Linked DNA regions of Homo sapiens: regions 1, 3 and 4 are each linked to region 2. The links are contacts of gene promoters, found by promoter capture Hi-C in blood cells and fetal thymus (Javierre and others, 2016). All regions are on one chromosome and are shown on one strand. The core of a region is centred on a gene start or on the middle of the fragment in contact, and the rest is flanking DNA. Distances in the headings are between cores, read along the strand shown.

Region 1 (6,432 bases), core at 2,298-4,797, 200 kb after region 2:
CTGCTGCTGCCAGTTCCTGAGATTTTAAATATTCTTGGGAGCAAATCAGACTTATTCACAGTTTTTCCCTTGCTGGCTCAGGAGTTGTCTTTCTCAAGTCTGCTAAGGCAGTTAGCACTTGTCTATCTGCTTTCCAGCTTCCAAAATTTTGTTGTGTTTTACTGTTTACTGTTAGTTGTTTATGATTTAGTCTGTCATAAAGTACACTTCCCCTCTTCCTGTTGTGTTCTTCTCATCCCTAAGAGTTTATGTCATTAAAAAACCTCTCATTATAGTTTTAGTAGGAGTGTGGAGAGAAAGTGAGATGCATATGTTCAGTCTATGATCACAATCAGAATTCCCTAGAGGATTTTCAAAAGGCATTTCTGAGTAGGCACAGTGGCTCAAGCTTGTAATCCCAGCACTTTGGGAGGCCAAGGCAGGAGGATCACTTGAGCTCAAGAGTTCAAGACCAGCCTGGGCAGCATAGTGAGACCCTGTCTCTACAAAACTTTTTGAAAATTAGCAGTGAGTGGCAGTGCATGTCTGTAATCCCAGCTTCTTGGGAGGCTGGGGCAGGACAATTGCTTGAGCCTGGGGGATTGAGGCTGTGGTGAGCTATGATTGTGCCCCTGCACTCCAGCCTGGATGACAGATAGACCCCATCTCAACCAAAACAAAAACAAACAAACAAACAAAGGCATTTCTTTGATTACTGAAGAGGTTGAACTTACTTCCAAATGTTTATGAATCTGTGTATTTCCTCTTCTGTGAAATGCTAGTTCAAATTTTTTGTCCATTTCTTCCCACGGGGATTTTTGCCTTCTCTTATCGATTTGTAAAAGCTCTTCATATTTTTTGTATTCTGTTGGTCAGTTAGATGTGTTGCAGATACTTTCTCGTAGCCTGTGACTTGTCTTTTCACTTTTTGTTGTTGTTATTGCTTTTTGTAGAGAAGGGGTCTTGCTATGTTGCCCAAGCTTGTCTTGAATCCCCAGGTTCAAGCAGTCCTCCCACCTCAGGCTCCCAAAGTGTTGGGATTATAGGTGTGAGTCACTGTCCTCAGCCTTCGTTTTCACTTTTTAAATGGTTTCTTTTGCTGAATTGAATTTCTTAATTTTAATAAAATTGCCTTTTGTTACAGCTTTCCCTTCACGCTTTGCTCTTTTTGTGTCTTGAGAAGCCCTTCCCTCTTCAACAGTCTTTTTAGTTATGCCTTTCATGTTTAAATCTTTGATCATTTGGGATTTATTTCTGAGTATGATGTGAGGTAGGGATTCATTTTCTCTACTTAAAAAATGTATGGAGAGCAAGTTTCCCAGCATCTTATCAAAAAACATCCTTTCTACACTGATCTGCACTGTTTATTCTGTCAGTTATACTTCAAGTTTCCATTAGTATATATTTTTCTGTGTTCTCAGTAATCTTCTGTTGGTCTTTTTGTCCATATCTGCACCCATACCATACAGTTTAATGACTTCAGCTCTGTGCTAAGTCCTGCTGTGTTGCATAGGTCCCAGCTTGCTTTCTTCTTCAAGAGCATCTTGGCTAATCTTAGTCCTTTGCTCTTACATGAAAAAACCTCTTGTGATTTTTGTTTAAGTGTGTTAAATCTTTAGGTCAATTTGGGGAAAACTGACATGGTGATGAAGTACATAGTATGTTTCTTTATAAAATATATGATACATCTCTCCTTTTACTTACACCTTCTTTAATGTCTTTGAATAAAGCTTTCATTATTTTTCCCATAACGTGTTTGCACATCTGTTGTTGGTTTTATTCTTAGGTATTCAATATTTTTAATTGCTAGGGTAAATGACATTTTAAAATTTATATTTTAAGACCATGGTTGGTATAGAAATCGGTTTGTATAGATTGTGATTGTATTGAAATGCAGTTGGATTGGGGTATTGATTTTGTGCCCAGCAAACTTGCTAACTATCTTCATTCTAATTAGTATTAGTTTTTTTCCCTTCTACTTAAACAATCATATTATCTGCAGACCATGATCACATTTTCTCTTTTCTTTCCTCATGCATTTATTTCTTTGCTTTACTGAAACTGGACTGGCCCTTTGGTTAACTTTTGACTTTGTAAAAAAGCCTATTAAAATTATGAGTAACAACTGCCTTAGTGCATGCAGGCTACTATATCAAAATACCTCAGACCAGGCAATTTATAAACAGCAGATATTTATTGCTTACAGTTCTAGGGCCTGGGAAGTCCAAGATGGAGGTGTCAGCAAATTCAGTGACTGGTGCGCCGGTTTCTCACAGATGATGACTTCTCCCTGTGTTCTCATAACGCAGAAGCCGGAAACAAGCTCCCTCCAGCCCCTTCTGCAAGGGCACTAATCACCTCCCAAAGGCCTCATCACCTCTTGATACTATTGCATGGGGGTTAGGCTTCAACATATGAATATTGGGGGGATGCAAGGATTCAGACCACAGCAACTACTGAGACAATGTGAATAGTACACACAACCTCCAACCCGGTACAGAAGGAAAAATCAGGAATAAAAAATGTCTAATTCACATGAAGGTCAGAAAGGAAGAGGAAAATAAAGGTCAGAGGCAAAGTATGGAATTCCAAACGTGGAATGCCGAAATGGAGAACTCAGGTCCGGAGCCGGTGAATTGCCCTCCGCGCTTATGGAGATCGCCTGCAGCGCCACCTGCAGGCTGGAGGAGCACTCCGGGCCCCAGTTCACCGCCCTGGACCCAGCTGGCACCACCTGCGGTTCCCAAGGACGCATCCAGTAAGGGGCGGGGCGGGGCGGGGCGGGGAGGGGCGGGACTCACCACCCATGTGACCTGCACTGGCCTGGAGGAGCTGCCTGACTGCAGCGGACTCTGCCAAGAATTTCAAGAGGTGCAGTGGTCCAGTCATAAAGCAACATGAAAACGCTGTAAAAAGAGTTTAATCGCGCACACGAGGCAGACATTGCATTTAATTTATCACCCTGCAAAATTAAAGCCATTCTGGGGTTTGCTATCGCTCATGCAGGGTGGAGTTATTTATTGGACACTGTCAGAGCCGAGGGGATCTGAAATTCAGGTCAGGGAAAGTCAAGTTTACAAAGGCCCGTCCGGGTCCCTAGGGGCCCAGATGGCTCAGGGCAATGTTCCTGTGTCTTGCTGCTGCAGAGGCTGAGGGGAGCAGGCACTGTGTTCACATCCTTGATGAGAAAGCCGAGCTCCGTGTGGGTGCGTGCAATCCTGCCTCCCCGAGCTCCACGCTCTGACCCTCTAACTCCTCAGACCACTAAGTAGGCTGTCCCCTCACCTGCCCCTTTGACGATGTGCTGGGTGCCAGGTGCCTGAAATGCGTGCTCCTACCTGCCCAGCCCTGTAAGGAAGCCCTGCATGGTGACCCCCATGTCACAGATCTGAGCCCTGGCTGAGTTGATCACCGGGCCTGGCGCTGTCCACCCAGTCTGTGCTGAATCTATTTGAAGAAACCCATGGGGTCCTGGGCTTGGACCTTTTGCTTGGCCCAGGGAGGAGGGGCAGGGCAGGCGTGAGGCCTCCTAGAGGAAGGATGGCGGCCGGTTTGAAATACACCTGGGAAATGGCTCCGGGGGACACCACAGATTTGCCTTCAAAGCACTTGTTCAAGCAGTTACTCACTGGGACTGATTGCAGAGGAGGTGGGCAGGGGGCGCTGGCCGGGCCTCTGGGCTCTAATTAGTCAGGTAATAAGGCTGTTTGTGCCAATTTGCTGGGCCGACAGGCTGGCTGCTCACTGGCTGCCTAACGAGGTGGGGAGTTGGGGTGAGTGGCCCAGGCAAGGCCCATTGACTCACCAATGGGCTGCGGCTGCCCCTCCTGCTCCTGTCTGCAGGGCCCAGGAGAGGTGAGTGGAAGCTGGGGAGGCCGGAGGTCCCTGGCGTGGGAAGGCCACAGCAGTCATTGGCACCCAGACCAGCAAGACCAACCCTCCAGCTGGAGGCCCTCTGTCCCTCCGAGGACTCACTGCCCGAATTGCCAGACAACCTGCCAGGAGTCCCGGCACCCACACCTCCTGTCCTTGTGGGTCTGGGTTGTTTGCACTGAGTGCAGAGCTCTGCGGCTGATGTAGGGAGAGAACAGAGGGCTTAACCCCTTCCTGAATCCTCTCATTCTGGCCCCCACCACTGCTGAGTTTAACACCATCCTGACACCCACTTTCCAGAGAAATCAGCAGAGCCTGGAAGAGCCTCAGGGAGTTGAAGGAGAGACGAGGAGAAGGGGCTGCCACTGTGGGTTTTCTGTGTGACCTCGGGTGATGGCCTGCCCTCTCTGAGCCTGGGTTCCCTGTCTGTGGTATGAGCTGGTGCTGCAGGTCAGCCTTTGTGCCTCTCAGAGACAGTGTGTTGGGTGGCTGAGGGGGGCGCTGGGGGTGTGAGGGGAAGGAAGAAGCCCAGCAAATGCATGCGGTCTGCTTCCCCGTGAGATGTTCTGCTTTCTCCCATCTCTGCCACACCCCTTCTCCTGGGGACCCCCAGCCCAGCGCCCTGGACCCAGGGCCATGCTGACAAGGGATCCTGTGAGCAGCCTAGGAGCAGGCGCACATTCCACACATACTTCTGGAGCATGTGCTCAGTGCCAGATGCCACAACAGGGGCTGGAGACACTTGGGGAGCTCCAGGCTCACATCCCTGGGGAGGCAGGCGCCAGCCCCATAGTCCTCTGAGTAACTGTCCTGCAGGGTGGTGCTCAGCCGTGCCTGCCCACACCTCCATCGACTCCAGGTGGCACATCAGGGCAGGGTCACCCTCACCCTCCAGTTCCCAGAGGCCTCCTCTGTCAGGCTGCACCCTCTGTGAGTCCCTGGAGGACCCTGGGCTGAAGTCAGGCCTTTTTCCTCTCCCCTGCACAGATCTGGCACCTTCCAGCTCCTGCCCACAGATCTGTATTGCACCTGCCAAGCTCCAGTCTCCCACCCCCAACCTCTGCAGACTCTTCCAGCCTCCTCCAACTCCAGGTTCCTGCAGGATCCCTCCCTGTCCTACTAGACTGGAGTGACTCTGAAGTCACTTCTACAAGCCTGCGTTGGGCTCCCATGCAGATGTCCCATGTGCACAGAGCCCCGATTCTGGCTGCAGAGGCAGCTGGCACCAGATGTGCAGACACAAGGTGCCTGGGCAGGTGCCCAGACAGAAGCCTCAGTCTGGGGCCATGAGGTGAGCACACTCCCGAGGGAGGCATCAGCCCAGGACCTCAAACAACGATGGTGAGAACACCAGCCCGCACTCTTCCTCATTAGTTGGAGTCAACTTGGATGCCACCTTCGTGGGAAGGTCTCTCTTCCCCACCATACCTCTGTGCCTCCATCTCTCTCGGCCTTTCACCCTACCAAGGAAAATCTTCCTTGTCCTTCCTTTGTATCACTGATCATCACCCAGCATGATCTATTCATTTGTGAGTAAGCTTTCTGCTCTTTCCCCTGCGATGCAAGCTCCATGCAAACAGAAAGATTTGTCTGCATTTCTTTTCCTGCCAAATCTTTAGCATAAAGAATAGTGTCTGGCATGTAGGAGGTGCTCAATAAATATTTGTTGAGTAAACAAACGAATGAATTGGTTGTACATCCCCTTCGAGGCAATGTCCACACAGCACATTTATCATCGCTGCACTTGCAGGACAAATGGCTTCTGTGTCCTGCTGGCTTCCCTCCTTTTGGATACCAGTTGCCCACGTTTCCATTAGATCTTCTGATTTTTCACTAGCGCTGCCCAAGTGCTATCGACTGCCTGATGGGTGCCTTCCCAGACTCTTCTGCACATTGCACACTCAGGCTGTCAACACATCACTCCTCCAGACACCATGGAGAGGGGCGCCTTAGTGGCAAAATTTTTCCAATCGGGGGAGCAATTTTCTCAGGATAAGTTCCCATGAATTGCAATTACCTGATAGAGGAGCCCTTGCTATTGCTCTCGCCATGTGTTGCAAATTGCATCCTAGAAGCTATGTGCTGCTCACGTGCCACCAGCTCACAGTGCCACCAGCAGTGCAAGCACCTGCTGGGGGAAGTCCAAGCTGCACCTGCCTGAAGCCAGCATGAGGCTGAATCCCAGCCCTGAGCCTCCAGGGAGAGGCATGACCCAGACATGAAGGCAACAGAAAGATATCTGTGACCTGCCCACATGGAGGGATGGTGCCATCCAGGGTCCTTTCCAAAGAGGGCACCCAAGGGCAAGGTCCAGTGTGCATGGAGCTTAGGGCCAGGGAGGGTGAGGAGTGCCGGTGGAACCCCCTGGAATGAGCACCAGTGCAGAGAAGCATTGCCTCCCTGCTAGAGGAGGCCCCAATGGATCATCGTGACCAAGGGGGCAAGCTCTAGATGAAAGAGTAGGACAAAAAGAGAAAGGAGGGAGGGCCTTGGAGAGAAGAGAAGGAAGGTGAGCAGGCCAGCGGTCACTGAGCTGGGTGTCCATCTGTGGCTTCATGAGCCTGGTGCCCCTCTCCTCTC
Region 2 (5,981 bases), core at 3,357-5,856:
CCCTTCCTTATCTCTTTATTAAATGCTAAACAGGATGGTTAAAAACCCCACAAAAGTCAAAACCGTGCAGAGGGGTGTAAAATGGAAGTGAAACCTCTCCCGAACCCCACTCCTACTCTCTCTCCAGAGGCAACAATCGTTACCTGTTGCTTGTGTCTGTCCCAGGAAAGGTCCCCGCCTTCATAAGCATAAACCTTCTCTGCAAAGGCCAACGGGGCTGTGCCGCACACTGCGTGCCCGTCCCTGTCCCGGGTCCACCTGCCGTCCATCCACTGTCGCCAAGGATGAAGAGACGATTGGCCATTCCTACCCAGCCGGTTTCCACTACTAAAGACACCTCTGGCAAGTGTTCAGTTTCCGTGGGAGCGTGTCTGGGGTGCCTCCCAGCTCTTGCCCTGCACACTGAAGGGACGTGGATGGGGGTGGGGTGGGCTCTGGAGGGACTGGTCTGCCTCCGGGTACCGTCCACCTCGTCACACATGAAGACACGAAGGTGCGGAGAGGTGGGGGGCGGGGCTCTTGACCAGCACCAGCAGGCTGGGGAGAGATGGCGGTATGGAGGGCCCTGGGCTCCAAGCACCCAGGGAAGGAATCTGAGCACTCAAGCCCCATGTCCTCCTCCCTCCCTGAAACATTGCTGCGTGTGGTCTGAATGGAAGCCGAGTTCCGGCAATTAATCCCATCAGAGGGGCCCTGCTGAATGGTAGGAGGTTTTTTTCTGTTTTGCTCCCTTGGTCTAGATTTCCCTGGGGACAGCTCTGACCAGCCGCCGCGTGCCTGGTAAATTAAATGTTAAAAAAAATCCCCACAATGACTTTAATCAATCCACTGACATGGCGGGTGGCCTCCCAGAAGCCCTTGGTCCGCTGAAGGGAGCCCCCCCCTCCCCGCCCCAGGCTCAGGGTCTTGGATGAGACAGGATGGGGGAAGAGGACAGTCTTCCCCAGTCCCCTTCCTGTGGGGGAGGGAGGAGGGTGGGTGGTCCCCAGAGTGTCCTCCTGGAGAGGGACAGAGAGAAAGGGGGGACTCTGGCCCCCTTTATAACTTGCCCTGATCCCAGGCCAGGAGTGATGGTGGACGCAGGGAGGGGGCAGCTCTTCCCCGCCTCTCTCCTGACCAGAAGCCTGGGTGAGTACAGAGCAGGTGGTCACGATCGGCCATGTGGTCAGCAAATCCAGCGTTTATGGTGATTCTGTTGGAGACAAATGGCAGTGCTGGGCTCTGGGTTGGAGTCAGGTTGAGACAACGTCCTTCAGCCTCCACTGGGGGGAGTCAGGGGAAGGACCGGGGGAGCAGGACGGCCTTGCGGCGCCGCCGGAGCAGTGGGGTTGTGGGGCGTGGCCATGGTCCTTCCCAGGGGAGAGTAGAGGAGTGCAGGGGGCAGAGAGCACAGAAAGTCTAGCCCAGCCTTAGCACCCCAGCCAGGCCATAGGTGCGCGCTGGCGCCGCTGAAAACGTTCTCCTTCCCTCGCCTGTCCACCTTCCAGGTCCTGCTCAAGGCGCCTAATATCCCCTGGGCAGGGTCCCTGACACTTCCTTAACTCCCAAAGACCTTCCGCGTGGGCCTAGCGCATTTAGGCGAACCTCTCTGCCTGCTTGATCCTCTCCCTTCCTCCCTCAAGCCAGGCATCTCACCCACTTGCGCGCGAGGCTGGGGCAGCCCACAGGAGGAGCGCGGGACCCGGGCTTGAGTTTGCACCCAGGCAGAGCGCCCACCCCCGCCCCTAGCTTCGGACCCTGAAAGTAAAGTCGTCGTGCCCGGCAGCCAGCCCGAATCTTCCAGCCCTCAGGGAGTCGGGGTCGGGGCAGGGAAGGCCACGGGTGGCGGCACAATCGGGATCCTGGAGTGGAGGCGCAGACTGCGGGTCCCGCTGCGCACGCTCCGTGGTCCGGTTGGGGTGGGCCTTGGAGGTCCATAGGCCAAGGTTGAACGGGGGCTCTGGAGCGTGGGCGGGGTGGAGTGCACAGGTCACTGGGCTCTGAGCGTTTCCATGGGCCAGGACCCCAACGCGCCGTGTCCTCAGGACAGATTGGAGGGGGAAGGGGCTGCGATTATGCCCCAGTCGGAAGGGTTTTACAGCAGCCGCGCTGCCCTCTCCCTGCCGGATACCCGGCAGTAGACACCGACGTCTGGGGGCTAGCGAGGCAGGTGGGCGCGGACCGCGACCCGATTCTGGCTTCCAACCTCCGCCCAGTGGCGCGCGGGGCCGTCGCCCCACACCTCCAGTCCGCGTGGCTGGTGTCTGGCTCGCCGCCGGGGCGGAAGGGGCGCTGTCGGCGCAGGCGGGCGGGGCCGGAGCGCGGGGGCGCGCGGCGCGGAGCGAGCGCAGGGCTCGGGGGCGCGGGGCGCGGAGGACCGGGGGCTTGACGGGCGGCCCTGCGCGGTGCGGGGCGCGGCGGCGGCGGGCGCGCGGCCAGTGAACGCGCGGGCGGGGCGGCGGTGGCGGGAGGCACTAGGGGCCGCTCCCCGCGCTTCCCTCTTCCATGGCGCTGCCCCAGCCGCCCGAGCCGCCCCGCGGCGCGCCCCGCAAGGCTCCCAGCCTGCTGGAGATGGGGGCGCTCTGCCTGGACTCGGAGATCATCCTGGGCTTCACCAGCCACCTCCTGCGGCGACGAGGCAAGGTGAGGGCTGTCGGGAGGGGGGCGGGCGGCGTAGGCGCCGTCCCGTTACTTTGCCGCGCGGCTCGCGCGGCCGGGGGTGCTGCGCCGGGAAGGAGACGGCAGGTCCGGAGCCGCGTCCCGCAGCCCGGGCTGGGACTCGCTGCCGCACTTTCCCCCATTAGCGTTGTCCAAGTCTCCCTCTGCCTTCAAGGCTGTGTCCCAACCGGACCCACCCGGAGGCTGTGGCTAGGGCGGAGAGCGCAGCGCAGGGATTCTCGGGCTCACCTTGCGCCTTGCTAGGATGGGCGAAGTAGGGGGTCGGGGCCCCTGACTGATCGTGAGCCCCCGAGGTGACTCCAGCCTTGTGCACCCCGTGTTCTGCGGATATGGGATGTGAGCTTGTGCTTCCCGAAGCGCCGCGGCGGTAGAAGCGCTGAAGTTGCGGGTGTGGCTGGCCAGGGGCGCAGGACCGGTGCTCCCGACCGCTGCGTGCTTCTGTGTTGCGTGTGTGGGTGGGGGGACGGGATATAGAGAGTGTGTGTCCCGGAGCAGTGGAGCGGCGGGAGGCGGTGCTGTCTGCCGGCAGTGCGGGGTGGGGTTTGGGTGTTGTCCTCAGTACCCAGATCCAGATGTGGGCTGACGCCCGTTTTCATTCTCCAGGCTGCGAAGAGACGGGTAGGGGAAGCGCTTCCGGCCCCCCAGGCTGGGTGGAAAGCGACTGCAGGCTTACGGATCTCAGAAAGAGTGGAGAGCCCCTGCCACTTTATTCCATACCCCCTTGCGTTTTCGAACCCCTAAGGTCATCAACGACCCGGAAAGCCGGGAGGGGATCACCCACCCCACTTTCTGGGGAGTGCGTGCGTGGGCGGGGAGGCTTATCCAAGTAAAAGGGGGTGGGCAAAACGGAAAGGGTCACTTTGACGTACTGAGTCTCTGCGAAGGCCTCACCGTATGTGCCGGCAGCCGCGTGTCCTGGTCTCCGCCGGGTCACGACCTTCGGAGTTTCCGAGTGCGCCTCAGGCCTGGGACGCGCGGCGCTGTCTCCCCAGTCTCGGAGCCGTGTGCGCAGCGGCCGGCAGGGGGCACTCGCGTCACGGGGAGCCCGCCCGCCGCGCCCGCCTGGCTTGACCCGGGCTTTGGGGCTGACCCGGAGCCTGGCCCGGAGCTGCCTGCGGCCGCGGATGCCGGCGACATTTGGGGCCCGGCTAGGCACAGAGCAACTGGTCGCCAGGGAAGGGCGGGGGGGCGGCCTCCCAGCCGGAGACAAACAAGCAATTAATTCCGGAGCTGAGTTCCCATCTGCCAGGCCTGCTGACAACAGGTCCGGCGCACGCCCGCAGGACCTCCCGCTTCCCGGGCGGCACGGCGCGCACACCCACTTGCGGGCACACGCGCGGCTGTAAAGACACGTGCCGTTCGCAGACGCGCCGAGGCACAGATACGCCGGCGCGGTCGCTGCCCGGCTCGAGGCGCACACCGCGGCGACACTAACCCACGCGCGACAGTTAGACCTAAAGTGGCCCGCGACACGCAGAGTACGCTGGGCTTGCTGGAAAGGCGCCTGGGAGTCTCGGGGCCGGGGTCCCGCCCCTTCCTCGGCCCACCTCGCCGTGGGCCTTGGGCAAGAGCGTCCCCTCCGCAGCCTCAGTTTTCCCGCCTGTAGAGGGAGGGGCGTCGGCGCCTCCTGGGAGACGCGCAGCCCTGGTGTCCCGGGAGAGGGGCGGGAGGCGCATGCGCGCGCGCAACTAGATCCTCGCCGCCGCCCCCAGCGCCCCTCCCCGGGGCAGGGACTCACCTAACAGGTTGGGGTCCTTGGAGTGCGCGGGGCCGCGTGGGGAAGCGGGGACCCTACCCCCCCCACGCGCCGCCCAGCACTGGGCAAGGGCGGGGCACTCTCTGGGCTCCCGCCCCTCGCCGCCCGCCCCGGGAGCCCGAGCCCCGCCCTTCCCCGGCCCCGCCCTCGCCTCCCGAGCGCGCCCACCGGAGCCACCGCGCTCCTCGCGACACTCGCAGGCTCTGCGAACTTCCGAGCGGCTGGGCCGGGCCATGGGGGCGCCTCGGGGCCGGATCACGTAGCCGCGGCGCCCCCGGAGAGCCAGCGTGGCCGGGAGCGCCTGCCGGGCTCTTCCCGCGCCCCGGCCATGGTCGGCCGCGGCGTCCCTCTGTGCGCTGCGCAGCCCGCGGTACGCGCGGCCCGGCCTGGAGAGGGAGGCGGGCGGCGGGGGCCCGGGACGGCGAAGATACTCGCGGTGTGCGCTGGATCCCTGGGGGCCGGGCCTCCTGCTGAGGGTAGCGGACCCGCAGGCGGGACCTCCGGGGATGGAGGGAGTGGGTGAGCGCCAGGGTCGTGCCCAGGGCTCCTAACTTTGGCAAGAGCGTCACGCTGGGGCAGGGCGCGCAGGGGTCTGGATCCGACGGACGTCCCAGGCTCACTGTCCGCTTCCGCCCCCACACCCTGCAGGTGGCCGAGGGCGGCCCGGCCCGCGAGCCGCCGCCGCTGCTGGAGGTGTCCCCCCGAAAGAGGCTACCCGCCGGGCCCGACCAGGACCCATGCGGCAGCCGCCCTGCTCCCGAAGGCGCCGGGGCCGGCCCAGAGCAGGGCCACTCGGCCGGCGGAGGCGGCTGGTGCCGCCACTGCCACACGAAGCTGGTGGAGCTCAAGCGACAGGCGTGGAAGCTGGTCAGCGGGCCCGGGACCACCCTCCGGGTAAGTGACACTTCCTTAGGCCGACCCCTCCGAGCAGGGCCACGCCGAACTTGGGTAGAACTTGGGGCTTGGAGGGAAGCAGGGTTCCACTCCTTCCCTGCTGCTGTTTCCACAAAGAGTTATCAGCCAGGACTTCCCTTCTGCGGGCCTCAGTTTCCCGGTCTGTAACACCATGTGTGAGCTAGGGAGCTCAGCCCGAGGGGCCCTGCTGCCTCGGATGGGAGGGGCCTGGGCTGGCGTTCCTCCCCCAGCCCAGATGTCCCACAGCTGGAACGCAGGTTTGTGTGGGAGGAGGAGGGGAGAGAGCGGATGGCAGGGACTCCACCCAGGGCGGGACAGCTCCAGCCCTACCAGCAGGGAGAGGTTATTTGGTGCATTGTGGCCCTTGGGGCACCTGGGCCCCCAGCCAGGTGTCTGGAAATTACATACCTGGGGCCGGGGGGCCTGGCAGGTGAAAGGGTGGGCCACAGCAGCTGGGGGGTCCCTGCCTACTCCTCTCCCAGCCTCAAGGATAAGAACTGTTGTCCCATACCTCCTGGGATAGACTGAGGCAGTGGCCGCCCATGGGGAATTGAGTCGGGGCCCTCTGGGTTCCCCAGGCTCCAGCCCCAGGGGCAGGTGCTTGCAGGGGAGGGGTTCTCCTGGATTTCCAGCCAGTGGGCCTGCCGGCTTT
Region 3 (6,033 bases), core at 2,464-4,963, 230 kb after region 2:
CATTTTTATACAAACCCTTTCAAAGAAAAGAGGGAGCTCTTCCCAACTTATTTTATCAGGTGAGCATAATCTTAATACAGAAATCCAAATAGGAAAGTATGAGGAAGGAAAATCTCACTCACAAACACAGACACAAGCATCTTACAACCTCAGCAGACTGAATATGGTAATGTGTAAAAAGGATCATGACCAAACATCATGACCAAACTGTCTGCATTTCAGTATTATGATTTTAGTTAAACAGAACATGGATCCAGGCAGCCATGATGAAGGTGGGAGGCAGTGAAACAGCCTCTGCACTACTGAGGGAGGCCAGCTAAGATAGCCTTTGCAGACCAGGAAGAGTTCATGGGAGGTATTCAAGGATTCAGTGATGACACATTGCCCCCTACCCTGTCCGAGGAAAGCAGATAATGACGGACAAGAACAGAGAACTCAAGAAGGGAGAAGATGGCAAGGGGAGCCCCTGAAGAGCAATGGCCTTAAAGATACTCCCCAAAATGCAAAAAAAAAAAGGAAAAATTATTTTTAAAAATGAAACATTGCAGAATGTCTTCCTTTTCTTTATTCATTCCCTTGTTCCCTCGCCCCTGCTCACTCACTCATTCCACAAGTACTCACTGACCCCATCTCTGGGCACAGCTGGCTCAGGGGCCCAGGCCCCCTCCTGAAGGAAGAAGTTCACACAGATCTGCGACTGGGGCTCCCAGACTCCCACTTCCTCCTCTCACTGTCACCCCTCTTGTGGGCCTTACTCCTTTAGGGGCAGGGCTGGGAGAAGAAGGGGCCGGGTGACACTGGTGTGGGAAGGGGAAGCAGCTAGGGGCATCTCTAAGGCTGCTCTGAGCTGGCCCAGGTGCTGCTGGTCAGCATGAAACAAAGCTGGCCTGCCCAGGCCTGCTGCCCTGCAGACAGCCCCCATTTGGGTCACAATGGCCGTGGCCATGGTGGAGGGGCCCTGCCCTTGCCACCTCCACTGCGTGCTGATCATTCCCATGCCCTTTGTGTCCTTGAGCTGCTGTTGTTCCCCAGAGCCCCACCTCCCGAGAGAGCCCCTGAGAGGTCGGGACAAGAATTGGCCAGGGGGTAATGGGTGCCCAGCCCCGAGACAGCAGGGGGTGCTTGGGCTGGTCTTCAGCCCACCTGGGCCCACTTCCACCTCCTTCAATGGTGGGACAGGGAACCCCCAGTCCTGCTGGCCAGAGCGGATCCCTGTGGGGACCTCAGTCAGCCACCCCAGAGTGGATCCCCATGGGGACCTCGGTCAGCTGCCCCCTCTTATGTCTTTCAGCCAACGCTTGCCAGGTCCAGCTCTGCCTCAGGCTGGGCGGGCAGCAGGGTGACAGGTGTAGCAGCTCGTTGCACCACATCCTGGACCCTCGAGCTTGTCCCGGGGGGCTTCTGCACCCCACGCCAGGAAGCTCTTCCCATAGGAAGCCTCAGGGTGAGTGGGCGCCCTCGGAGATAAACACGGAGCCCAAGCACACGAGCTCCGGCCTAAGTGAGGATAAATCTCCATGACAAATGTCTCCTCGAAAGCCCGGAACAAAGGCCGCGGCGTGTTTATCCACCCTAAAGGCCGCGCAGACAGCCCAGACCCCGGAAACAGCCAATCGTGTCGAAATTGATGGCCCACTCAGGATGCCTCATTTATTACCAGAGATGTGATAGAGACGCAGGCAGGCGTGACCGGGAGAGGCTGCAGGCGGCCAGGTGGTCATGGCCTCCTGCCACCCAGAGGGCTTGGGCTCCACCCTCGGCCACTCAGCCTTCCGCCCAAGGACAAATGGGGTCAGGGCAGCAGCTGTACCTGGCGAGAATGCACTCCCTTCCTGGGGGGCCACTTTTTTCCAGGAGTGCATGGCCCTGGGCTGGCTGCTGAGACCTGTGCCCAGCCCCTCCGTGGTGGTACTCTCGTCAGACACCAGCCTCTGCGGCACCCAGGTGAGAGGTGGTGGTGCTGGGGGGCCCCACCCATGCTCTTGTCCTGTGAAGTGGTCCCAGGGTCTCCTGGGCTCTCCAGGCCCATCCGCCGCCTGCCCGCCTGCCAGCAAATCAGCTGTGGGCAAAAAGGGTACTTTTGGTTCCCGTGGTGATGGCCCATGAAGATGGAGCTCTGGCCCTGCAGACCCCCTCCCACCGCCTGGGCACCTGCCTGGAGGGGCCGGGCTTTCACAGCAGGGAGGGACAAGGCGGAGGAGCGGCTCCTGTTTTTTCTTGCGTGAGGCCTGGATCTGATTTGCACAATGATTTCATTGTGTGGAAATGTGCCAGCACCTGGCTCTGACGCCAGACCACCACGAGTGGCAGCTTCTCCAGGACATGCTGACATGTGACGAGGGGGTCCTGCATGTGGAGGGGCAGTGGTGGGCTGTGAGGCTCGAGGTTCAGGCGACCAGCAGCGGGTGTGGGGGCTCCTGTGGTCCCAGAGTGCGTGACCGTCAACCAGAGCAGGGACCCCCACAGAGCCTCCCAGTTAGGGCCCCTGGCAATGGCTGTGGGGGGCTGCATGGAGGGGCAGTGGCCCAGGGTCTGTGGCGGTGTGTGCCGGGCACAGCAGTCTCGCCCCAGCTCCATCTGCTCCCCTCCTCTGGAGGAATGGAAATGGGACCCCTCCTGAGCCCAGGCCTCGCCCAGGGCTGGCACCTGGAGGGTGAGGCCCCCTGCCCTCAAGCCTCCCCAGTGACCTGCTGCCCCCAGGGCGGAGCCTGCCTGAGGGGGAGGCAGCGCTCAGCCCTGAATGAGCTGTCAACTGCTGTGTCACAAATTGCCCCAAACTTAGCATCTGAAAACAACACACATTGATTATTTCCAGTTTCTGGTGGTCAGGGATCTTGACATGGCTTATCTGGGGTCTCTGACTGGGGTCTGAGGGATCGGCAGAGGAGCAGGTTCCCCCTGTAGCCAGGAAGATGCTGCGTGGAGGTGGGGCAGGGTGCAGGTCCACTGAAAGGGAGCATGAATCTGCTCTGCACGGTGGCCCCAGGCAAGTGGGGGCTTGTTGCAGTGGGGACACAGGATGGCTTTTCCCGTGTACCCCAGAAGTCCACACTCCCCTGGTGCAATCTTCTCCAGGGAACGGGTGGATTTATCCGTGGAGATGCATGGAGCCCCGCCGAGCCAGGCCCAGCCCCACCAGGGTCTCAGGAGAGGGCTGGATGTGGGGATTGGGGGAGAGGGGCTTTTCTCTGGGACCTGCAAGTTACTGGTCACTGTCAATCACAAACGGAGCTTTCCTCCATCTCTCCCTCCCCTCACCCCACCCCCAGTCTCCCTCAGCTCCTTCCCCAGATTCTTGGCAGTGCAGCGTCTAAGCAGGGCCTCCAGACAGAGCCCCGCCCTCGAAGGGGCAGGAGGGGCACCCCGCTGTGATCCTAACCCGATCCCCACCACCAAAATCTGCAGGGTGACCCTGGGAAAGCCACTGCCCTTCAAGGAGCCTCAGTTTCCCCATCTCCCATGGGTGATGGGACCAGACTCTTTCCTTCTCTCCTTCAATCGTAAAGCCATCGACATCCTGGCCAGGAGGTGGCCTCCAGTCACCTTTATCGGTTCATTTGCCCATTCATTAAATAGTTGTGGCACCTTTCCTGTAGCGGGTGGCATGGTAGCCCCCAAACATCTGTGTTCATGGACCCAAAGCCTGAGGACCAGGCAATGAGGTCTTAGTTCAAACGAGAGCGTTTGCAGATTTAATAAGGTAAGTAAGGATCTTGGGATGAGATTACCCAGGCCCTAAATCCAAGGACAGGCATCCCCATGAGAGACACACAGGGGGAGGCCACGTGAAGACGGAGGCAGAGATGGAGGGACGTGGACACACACCACGGATGCCCGGGGCCACTGAAGCTGGGAGGGCGGGGAAGGATCCTCCCCCAGAGCGTGCAGAGGGAGGGGTCCGGCACACCTGGATTTCGGACTCCAGCCTCCAGGACTGTGGGGGAGTAAGTGCCTGTTGTTTCAAGCCTCTGAGCTACGGCAGCCACAGCAAACACACACCTTCAATGTGCACCATCTACTGGCAGCCAGGGGACAGCCACTAGAGGGACGGCTCATCTTTAGCAGAGAAATGGACCCGGGAGGGAAGGGACCTTTGGGGCTGAGGGTTCCAGGAGCTGACAGCCTCTCTGCCCTGCTCCCTCCAGGCCCCAGCTGGGCCAGTGTCCTTCAGCTGCTGTGGGACAGCACCTGCCGTCTTCACGCTCTTTCCACAGCGCGGGGTGTGGGGAGGGTGGCCGTGCATTTCAACAACCATCCTCTTGGGATTTTGTCAGGAGTGGCCTGGCGGGCCCAGGCGCTGTCCTGCGTTGGATACCGCACGGGTCCTTCAGCAACACCTGAGCTCGCGGGAGTCTCAAGTAAACTCTGCATGTCGCAATGAGTTTCAGCAAAGCCTCAAGTTAAATGGCTTGTGATAAAAATATTAAGCACATTATGACTGCAAGACGTGATCTCGTCAATGAAGGAGGCTCTTAATTATTTTTGAAGAGAAATATCAACAGTGTCAGATTTAACCGCCAAACTACTTAATATAACTTCCGCCCAATTTTGCAGATCATGATCCGCTCGATTAACGGGCAGGAGGTAATGGATGGAGCCCGCCATGCTGCTCCGGGTGCCGCTGCTGATGCTGGGGACCGAGCCAGGATGGAGGGAGGGGCGTGCACAGGAGAAACCTGGAACTTTCCCTGGGAATAGACCCTGCAGGGGAAAGCCCTGTCCCAGCGCCTTCTGAAGTGGGCTGCAAGCTGCATTCAAAGGGGCTTCTCACCCCAGACTGAGGGTGGGAGCGAGGGCTGCGAGGCTGCACCCTGGAGATGCAGCCAGGCCAGGCACTCACTTACGCTGCCAGGCGGTTCACACTCACAGCGCGTCCTGAACCGCCTTAGAGGGGCCGTAGAGGGCGGCTCTCTCATTCACAGGTGCTGAGTTTGCTGAGCCCCTCCGTGCTTCTTGCTTGCTCCCCGCACTCCAGGGTGGAGGTCCTGCTATCTCCTCTCTGCAGATGAGGAGTTCTCTCATCCGAACCTCACGGCTCAAGGAACAGAAAGCTGGACCAACGGTGGTCAAATACAGTGGGCGCTTAACTACCTCATGGGAGTGAATGGAAAGGAGTTCCCAAGGACCCCGGGTTCTAGCCCCAGGGCCCTGTGGATGGATCTCACGTGGAAAGGGGGCTTTGCCTCTCAAGGATCTGGCGATGCGGAGAGCAGCCTGGGTTATCCTGGTGAGTCTTCAATGTAACCACGAGGCAGAGGAAAATTTGACAGAGAACAGAAGAGAGAAGGGGATGTGTCCCGGAGATGGAGAGTGCAGTGATAGGGCCACAGCCAAGGACCACTGAGTGCCAAGGGGGCTGGGGGAGGCCAGGACTGACTGCCCGGGGCCTCTGGAGGGAGCCTGGCCCACTGCACCTTATTGCATCCCCATGAAAGCTGTTGCAGACTTCTACCTCGAGACCTGTGTGAGAATACAGTTCTGTTGTCTTAAACCACTAAATTTGTGATAGTTTAATTTTTTTTCAGCAGCCACGAGAATCTAATACATTCATGAAAGGAGCCTGGAGGTGGGTGGCACCGGCGTTGAGAAGGAGGTAATGACATCACCCAGGGCCCTGGCTCCTTTCCCTCAGTCATCCTTGAATGTTGGCTACTTGTTCTCTGGCTCCTGACCTCACAGTCACAAGACGGCTGCCACTGCTCCAGGCGTCCCATCCTCACACGACAGCCTCTGAAGCAGAGAGTGAGAAAGGGTGGGTGTGGCTTCTCCTTGTATGGGTCTATCTTTCATCAAGGAGGAAAGCCTTTCTCAGAAGCCCATCAGTGCACTTCCCAGGCTACATCCAAGCAAGGTCCCATAGCTATCCTGGGCCCATCCATGGCAAAGGGAATAGGTTGACCTGATGGGCTTAGACCAGTCACAGGTCATCTACTGGGCTAGGCCCACGCTCCCCAGGCACAAGCAGGTTCTGTTGGCAAGGATAGGAGGGGGATGGGGGCTGGGGTCAGTCGCGGTCATGGAGTTGTGGGGAGT
Region 4 (6,432 bases), core at 613-3,112, 160 kb after region 2:
TTCCCCAGGGCTTGCAGGAGTAGGCCAGGGGCCTGGAGGGCCAGGGGGCTGCAGGGGCCAGGGGACTGCAGGGACCGGGGGCTGGAGGGACCCGGGGGCTGGAGGGGCCGGGGGGCTGCAGGGGCCATCTGCTGCCGGCCTTTTCCCTTGAAAACAAGCCAGTGCTTCATTTCCCTTCTTTTAGCAGCAGGTGAGCTGGCCGGGGGCCTCAGAGCGCTGGCCCAGGTGTGAGGGTCACGCTTCTGCGGGGACGCCAGCCAAGGCTCACCCATCCCCAGAGATGTCCTGTGAGGCCCCAGCGTGACTCAGAGCCCAAACGAGATTGTCTTGGGAGGTGCAGAGTTGGGAGATGCAGGCTGAGATGAACCCCGGGGGAGGGGCAAGGCCAGGCAGAGGTGAGTGCAGAGAGCAACGGAGGGAGGGGGCTGCCAGGAAGGGGCCCTGGGCAGGATGGAGGCTGTCCACAGCAGCAGCCTGGTTGGTAGCTGGGCCCTACCCTCAGGCCTCCTCCTCCAAGGCAGGACGGAGCAGTGGTTAGGATCACCCCATCCTCCCAAAGCAAAGGCATCCTCTGTTCTGGGAGCTGAGAGCACCAGGGAGCTTCCTCCTGCTGCCTGGCCCGGGTGAGTGTCTGGGAGGGGCTGGGGCAGCCTGGTTGGTCACCAGAGTGTGGTCATTGTCATCTGCATCCCGGGGTGAGAAAGGACAAGAGGGCTGCCCTCTGCCTCCCTCCCGTGCTCCCTGTCCTGAGGCTGGCGGCTGTGAGAGAGAAGATTGTCGCTCAGCAAACACTATTTCCTCATCCACTGTCCCCATTGATGGCAGGCTTGGCCACCGGGCTCGATTTAGCCGGAAGTGGCCATGTGCCAGCTCCCAGCTGAGGGCTCTGGTGACCCTCCTGTGAAGAGCCTGCCTTGGAGGCTGCAGTCCCAAGGAGGAGGCTAGACTCAGCCCTCGTCCTCCAATGCAGCTGCAATGAGCCTGCTCCTCCTGCTGGTGGAAAATGCAGGTAGGCACGTAAGCCACCAACCCTGGGGGCTCAGTCAAAATCCTGAGGACCCCCAAGGGGCAGAGCCGATGGGGCCTTCTGACCAGGGTGCCCAGAATGGATGGCACTGGGGGACACAGGCTAATTGCGGGGGAACAGGTGAAGGTGGGTGAAGCAGCTGCGTGTTTGGGGCAGAGGGAGAGGTATTGTGAGGGTTAATTTTATGTGTCCACGCGACTGCAGACATTTGGTGGACTCCGATTTGGGGTGTGTCCGTGCAGGTGTTTCTGGATGAGATTCAGGCTGGAATCCGTAGACTGAGCACAGCAGATGTCCCTCCCCCATGCGGGTGGGCCTCGCTCAATCAGATGAAGGCATGACGAGGAAACTGGTTGCCTTGCAGCCGGGAGGGCGGCTGCTTTCCTGCTTTCAGATTTGAGCTGGAACATCAGCTCCACCCAGGTGTCGAGTCTGCTGGTGTCCGGCCTGATTTGCCACCATCAGCTCTCCCAGGGCTCCAGCTTACTGACTCGGTGCAGGTCTGCGGACTCAGCCTCCATCATTGTATGAGCTAATTCACTGCAATAAATCTCTCTTTCCACGGCCTGTTGATTCTGAGTCTCTGGAGAGGAGAGTACAGCAGCAGTGGGTGACAGACACCAGGGACCTCATTGGCACTAAGGATTGTCCCCGACCGGAATGCGGAGTCCGGGCTGAAGGAGGTGACTCCCCACCTCCCTGCCCTGCCCTGTGGTGGGGATGGGTGGGGGGAAAATGCCCAGTTCCTGAGCTGGACTCTGAGTGACAGTGGCCCTGGTTAGTGGGGGCCCTCTGCTGGGCGGTGGCCGGAGGGAGACAGGGTGCCAGGCCGGGAGAAATGTTTAGAGGGCATCAGTGCCAACTTCCTGGGCACGGTGCAGGTGTGGAGAGAGCTGCCCCCAGCCTGAGAGGATGCTGGGTTGGGCTTATCTCCACTCGGAATCGAGAGAACTCACCGTCCCCAGAGCCGGACTGGCTGCCATGGGAGGCCACCCCACGAGAAGAGAGGAGGAGCCGAGGCCTGTTGCTGAGGGTTGCGGAAGGCAAGGAGGAGGACACAGAGGGGCCCTTCCCAGGCCTCTGTTATCACGGCTCATTTCTGGAGTCCCAGAGCCGGGCAGAGCCAGGCTCAGCACAGCAAGGATGACGGCCCAAGTGGAAGCACTGGCAGGGAGAGCTGGGACAGACGCAGCCCCAGACAGGCTGGACCCCAGGGACGGTAAAGGGTGCACACCGCTTGCCCCACTCGTACTCTGCGCCCAGCAGCTCCCTGGATGGTGGCCGGGCAGGAGGCTGTCCTGACTGATCCCGCAAATGTATTTACAGCTATTGACGGCCTGAACGTGGCCTATTGATCCACGCCTGAGCCTGGCCGGGCGGCGCGTGCACTTGGCCAGGGCAGCCCTGCGTGACGAATGGGCAGCTCACAGCCCACCCTCTCCGACAGGTGATTGTTTCAGTGAAAATGAGAAATGATGATCAGGGCTTAAGGCTGATGATTGAGGAAGATTTCCAGCGACTTTGCAGGTCGTCTCGGTGGTGCTAATAGCCAGGGCCTCCTACAGAGAGGCATGTTCCCCGACTAGGCAGGTCACCATGAATGTCTGCAAAGACGCTGTCCTGGCGTGGGGACCCGGGCAGGGGCACAGGAGGCACAGACGTTCCTGCCCCTTTCCCTGGCTGGGTTGCGCTGCTGAGGTGGGCCAGGTGGGGTTCACTCTTTCTGGCTTCTAAGGGGGTTCCAGACCCCAGATGGGCCTGGGGAAATGAGGGCTTTGTGTGGACAGCCCCATGGGAGAGGGGCTGTTCCCAGCCCTGGTGCCCGCCTGCCTAGTCCTCCCTGGGACTCTGGGCCCAGCCTTATCATTCCTCTCTTCTCTTCTAAGATGAAAAGAGGATTCCTGCAAGTGGAGACGAATCCTCGGGCCCCTGAGCTGCAGGTGGTGAACAAGGAGCTGAGGGCCTGCTGGTTCCCCAGGAGGGCAGGCAGGGCTGTGCTAACGAGGAGAAAGAACCGAGTGAAGGAAGGCACGGAGGTGCCAGGGAGAGACCAGGAACCTCCTCAGCTTCCTGGCTTCCTTCCTGGCCCAGGCCCCCTATTCCCGGGGCCCTAGGCTGGGCTGAGGTCCCCTCGCCCTGTGCAGGGCCTGGGGCTCAAGTTCTACCAGCTGTAGCCTGGGGCCTGAAGGTCCATCTGATATTTGAAGGACTCAGAAGGCCCTGGGAGGGTGTTGGCAGGAGTAGCCTCAGTGTTGATTCCTCGATGGCCCCTGAGCCAGGTTCAGGAGCACAGAGAGACGTGGGTGCCACCTCTCCCGAGCTTGGAGCTCACTCTTGGGGGTTGAGATGGGGCCAGGAAGGGGTTAAAGCAGGAAGCATCTTGCAGGGCTGTTAGGAAAATGATATTCTGCTGTTTGACGTCATTTTAATTCCATTTCAAGGGCATTTAATCTTATTTGCCCGATGACTAATCCCCGGCCTTGAGTGAATTAATGTGCGGCCCCTTCTCTGAGGGGAAGCGGGACCCTTTCAGTGGAGACATCGCGTCACCGCGTCCCGCCTCTTGCTTGGCTTGGCGGGCAGGGCTCCTGGCCAGAGGCGGGGGCAGCCACTGGGTGGGGGCTGTGGTGAGGACCTGACCCCTGGGTGAGGAAGAACGACTCGGCATCTCCTTAGCCCTGGAACTTTCCAGAAGCGTGCCTGCCTGCAGTTTCTCCTTTGTGCCTATGGGCAGAAAATGCCCATTTCCCAGGCCCAGGACAAAAGCTCCAGAACTGGATGCTTCGAGGCAGGTGCAGGGACCCAGGTGGCAGGGCGGGGAGCAGCGAGAGCCAGCTGCTGCATGTCCAGGGCTGGTCCACCCAGGCCACCCAGCAGGGGCCTCAGCCAGGGCCGCAGGGGCCGTGACAGGTGCTGGCATGCAGGAAGGAGTCACCAGACTTGTCCACCCAGTTGGAGAGGGCCAAAGAGAAACTGGAAACTGAGGCACAGCCGGGCAGGGGCTTGCTAGATGCATTTTTCAGAAGGGCTTGATCTTGTCCCTGGACTTTCTCTGTGATCCCACCTTGACTTTCAGCCTCACGGGGCTGGGACCCCCTCCCCTACCCCCACCCCTGCTTTGCCTTCAGTGGCCACAGGAGAAGAGGACCCATCTGCCGGGTGGGCAAGCTGAACTGTCACAGCCCCCACGCAGTCCCACGTCCCCTCTTGCTCAGGCCACAGACATGCACAGGAGATGCCAGGTCCTGTCTGCCTTGAAGAGTCCAAGGAAAAACTTTCTCGTTGTAATTTCGGGCCTTGGGGAGCCTCTAGGAGGAGGAGAGGGGGCCAGGGAGGCTCTGGTGGATGTGAGTGGAGTCTCGCCATGTGGACAGCCCTATGATGGGTGAATATTCCAGTCCTCACAGTGGGTGAGGCTGAGTGGTGGCTCCTGGGGACCAGAGATGGTCCTGGCTTAGCTCTTCGGCAGCAGCCTCTGACCTGCCTGTGCTCAGTGGGCTCCCTCCTGCCACCCCACAGGGCTGGGTGAAGCTTCTGCTTGGAACATCCTGCCCCCGGCCTGACCCTTGTGGGGTGATGGGTCCTTCCCTGAATCCAGGCTCCCCAGACTTTAGGGGCCCGGAGGCCTGGGATGGGGGAGCAGGCAGGGCCGCAGCCCCAGGAGGCGAGATGCCCTGGCTACCTTCCTCCACCTGCCCCTGCATCTGCTTTCACCTCTGCTGGTGCCTCTGAGCTTTGAGGAACTTCTGCTGAGTGCTTTAACCACCCACGGCCTGGACCTGGTTGAGCTTTTGGGTCTTCTGGGAGCGAGCATGTCCTGTGAGTACCCCAGGGTGTGATTTGCACGCAAGAGGTCTGTGTGGACCACGGGGGGCTGCAGGGGCTGCAACCTGGGCAGCCTGGGCTTGTGGGAACTGCAGCAGCTCCCGGGCCTTCCCAGGTGGTCTGGCAGGGACTGGAGGCATAGGAGGGGCTCAAGATGCTCGTTCCACCAGAATGAGCCTCCTAACACCTGGACAACCAGGTGGCACAGAGGTCAACCTGGTGACTGAAGGACAGTGTGGCCTGCAAGTTGGAGATGTTGGAACATCTGGGTTAATCAGAATGGCCCTACAAGCACAGCCATTGTAGCTGGCATTGGGGTTGACCCCAGCATCCACTGTGCCCCAGTGTTGCCCTGAGTCTGTCACCATGGCACCTACTTCCTTGCCATGGGCTTGGGGTGGCAAGGTGTGAACCAGCCAGGCAGGCTTGCCCACCCTCTGTGGGCTGCATGGGAGCAAGGAAGGTCATACTTCATGGTGGTTGGCAGCCACCGTCTGCTCAGAGCGGCCCCTACCTGACACAGAAGGCAGTACTGAGAGCGGTACTTCATCTGTCCATCCACCAATCCATCCATCCAATCTTACACCCACCTACCCATGCTTCCATCTACCCACCCATCTGTATACCCATTTATCTATCCATTTACCCATCTGCCCACCTACCCATCCATCCATCCATCCATCCATCCATCCATCCATCCATCCATCCAACCATCCATCTACCTTTCCATCCATCCATGCATCCATCCATCCATCCACCCACCCACCCATCCATCCATCCATCCATCCATCCATCCAACCATCCATCTACCTTTCCATCCATCCATCCATCCATCCATCCATCCATCCATCCATCCATCCATCCATCCATTCCATCCACCCATCCATCTACCTAAATATCCATCCATCCATCCATCCATCCATCCATCCAACCATCCATCTTCCATCCATCCATCCATCCATCCAACCATCCATCTACCTTTCCATCCATCCATCCATCCATCCATCCATCCATCCATCCATCCAACCATCCATCCATCCATCCATCCATCCATCCATCCATCCATCCATCCATCCAACCATCCATCTACCTTTCCATCCATCCATCCATCCATCCATCCATCCATCCAACCACCCACCCATCCATCCATCCATCCATCCATCCATCCATCCATCCATCTACCCATCTACCTTTCCATCCATCCATCCATCCATCCATCCATCCATCCATCCACCCACCCATTCCATCCACCCACCCACCCATTCCATCCATCCAACATTTACTTTGATCCCGCTGCATTCCTGTACTCAGACTGAGTGACAGTTCTCTGTACATAGCGTCCAGGGTGGTCACAGAGGGAAGTTCTGGGGTGGGGATGGGGCAGGCTGTGGCAACTCAGAGGAAGCCCCTGGCCCTAGCCAGGTAACAATAAAACAATATTTTTTTTCAAAAAAAGCCACCTATGAAATGTGTTATTAAACCCAATTTAATACAAATGTTTTGAAAGTCCTTGCATATGAAATTTGAAGACTAAACGATTATCCTTTGCCAGATCCCTAGTTTGGTTCTGGAAAGTAGAG

The links. Contacts are between HindIII fragments. The CHiCAGO score rates a contact against its expected background, and 5 or more counts as called.
Region 1: a contact is called between a fragment that was not itself captured here and the fragment with the promoter of KIF26A in region 2, in 1 of 17 cell types (endothelial precursors). The highest score is 6.0, in endothelial precursors.
Region 3: a fragment that was not itself captured here is called in contact with the fragment with the promoter of KIF26A in region 2 in 1 of 17 cell types (endothelial precursors); the score reaches 6.3 in endothelial precursors.
Region 4: a contact is called between a fragment that was not itself captured here and the fragment with the promoter of KIF26A in region 2, in 1 of 17 cell types (endothelial precursors). The highest score is 6.5, in endothelial precursors.

What each region holds. Positions count from the first base shown.
Region 1 is chr14:104,339,490-104,345,921 of GRCh38, forward strand. No RefSeq gene overlaps it. Among named protein-coding and RNA genes, the nearest start is that of LINC02691, 120 kb to the left of the region's middle. RefSeq lists an enhancer at 2,697-3,310. The HindIII fragment of the contact is 3,681 bases long and covers 1,708-5,388 here.
Region 2 is chr14:104,133,981-104,139,961 of GRCh38, forward strand. It overlaps KIF26A (kinesin family member 26A), which reads left to right and starts at 4,607. Exons shown (of 15, transcript NM_015656.2): 1 at 4,607-4,784; 2 at 5,063-5,308. The coding sequence starts at 4,743. It overlaps KIF26A-DT (KIF26A divergent transcript), which reads right to left and starts at 4,649. Exons shown (of 3, transcript NR_158217.1): 1 at 3,550-4,649; 2 at 2,887-3,262; 3 at 803-1,192. RefSeq lists enhancers at 518-1,017, 1,626-2,199, 2,486-3,197, 3,198-3,909 and a silencer at 3,606-3,775. The HindIII fragment of the contact is 14,398 bases long and covers 1-5,981 here.
Region 3 is chr14:104,366,414-104,372,446 of GRCh38, forward strand. No RefSeq gene overlaps it. Among named protein-coding and RNA genes, the nearest start is that of LINC02691, 150 kb to the left of the region's middle. RefSeq lists an enhancer at 3,693-4,194. The HindIII fragment of the contact is 9,349 bases long and covers 1-6,033 here.
Region 4 is chr14:104,293,330-104,299,761 of GRCh38, forward strand. No RefSeq gene overlaps it. Among named protein-coding and RNA genes, the nearest start is that of LINC02691, 73 kb to the left of the region's middle. RefSeq lists enhancers at 1-507, 508-1,175, 1,490-2,181, 3,565-4,254. The HindIII fragment of the contact is 5,388 bases long and covers 1-4,556 here.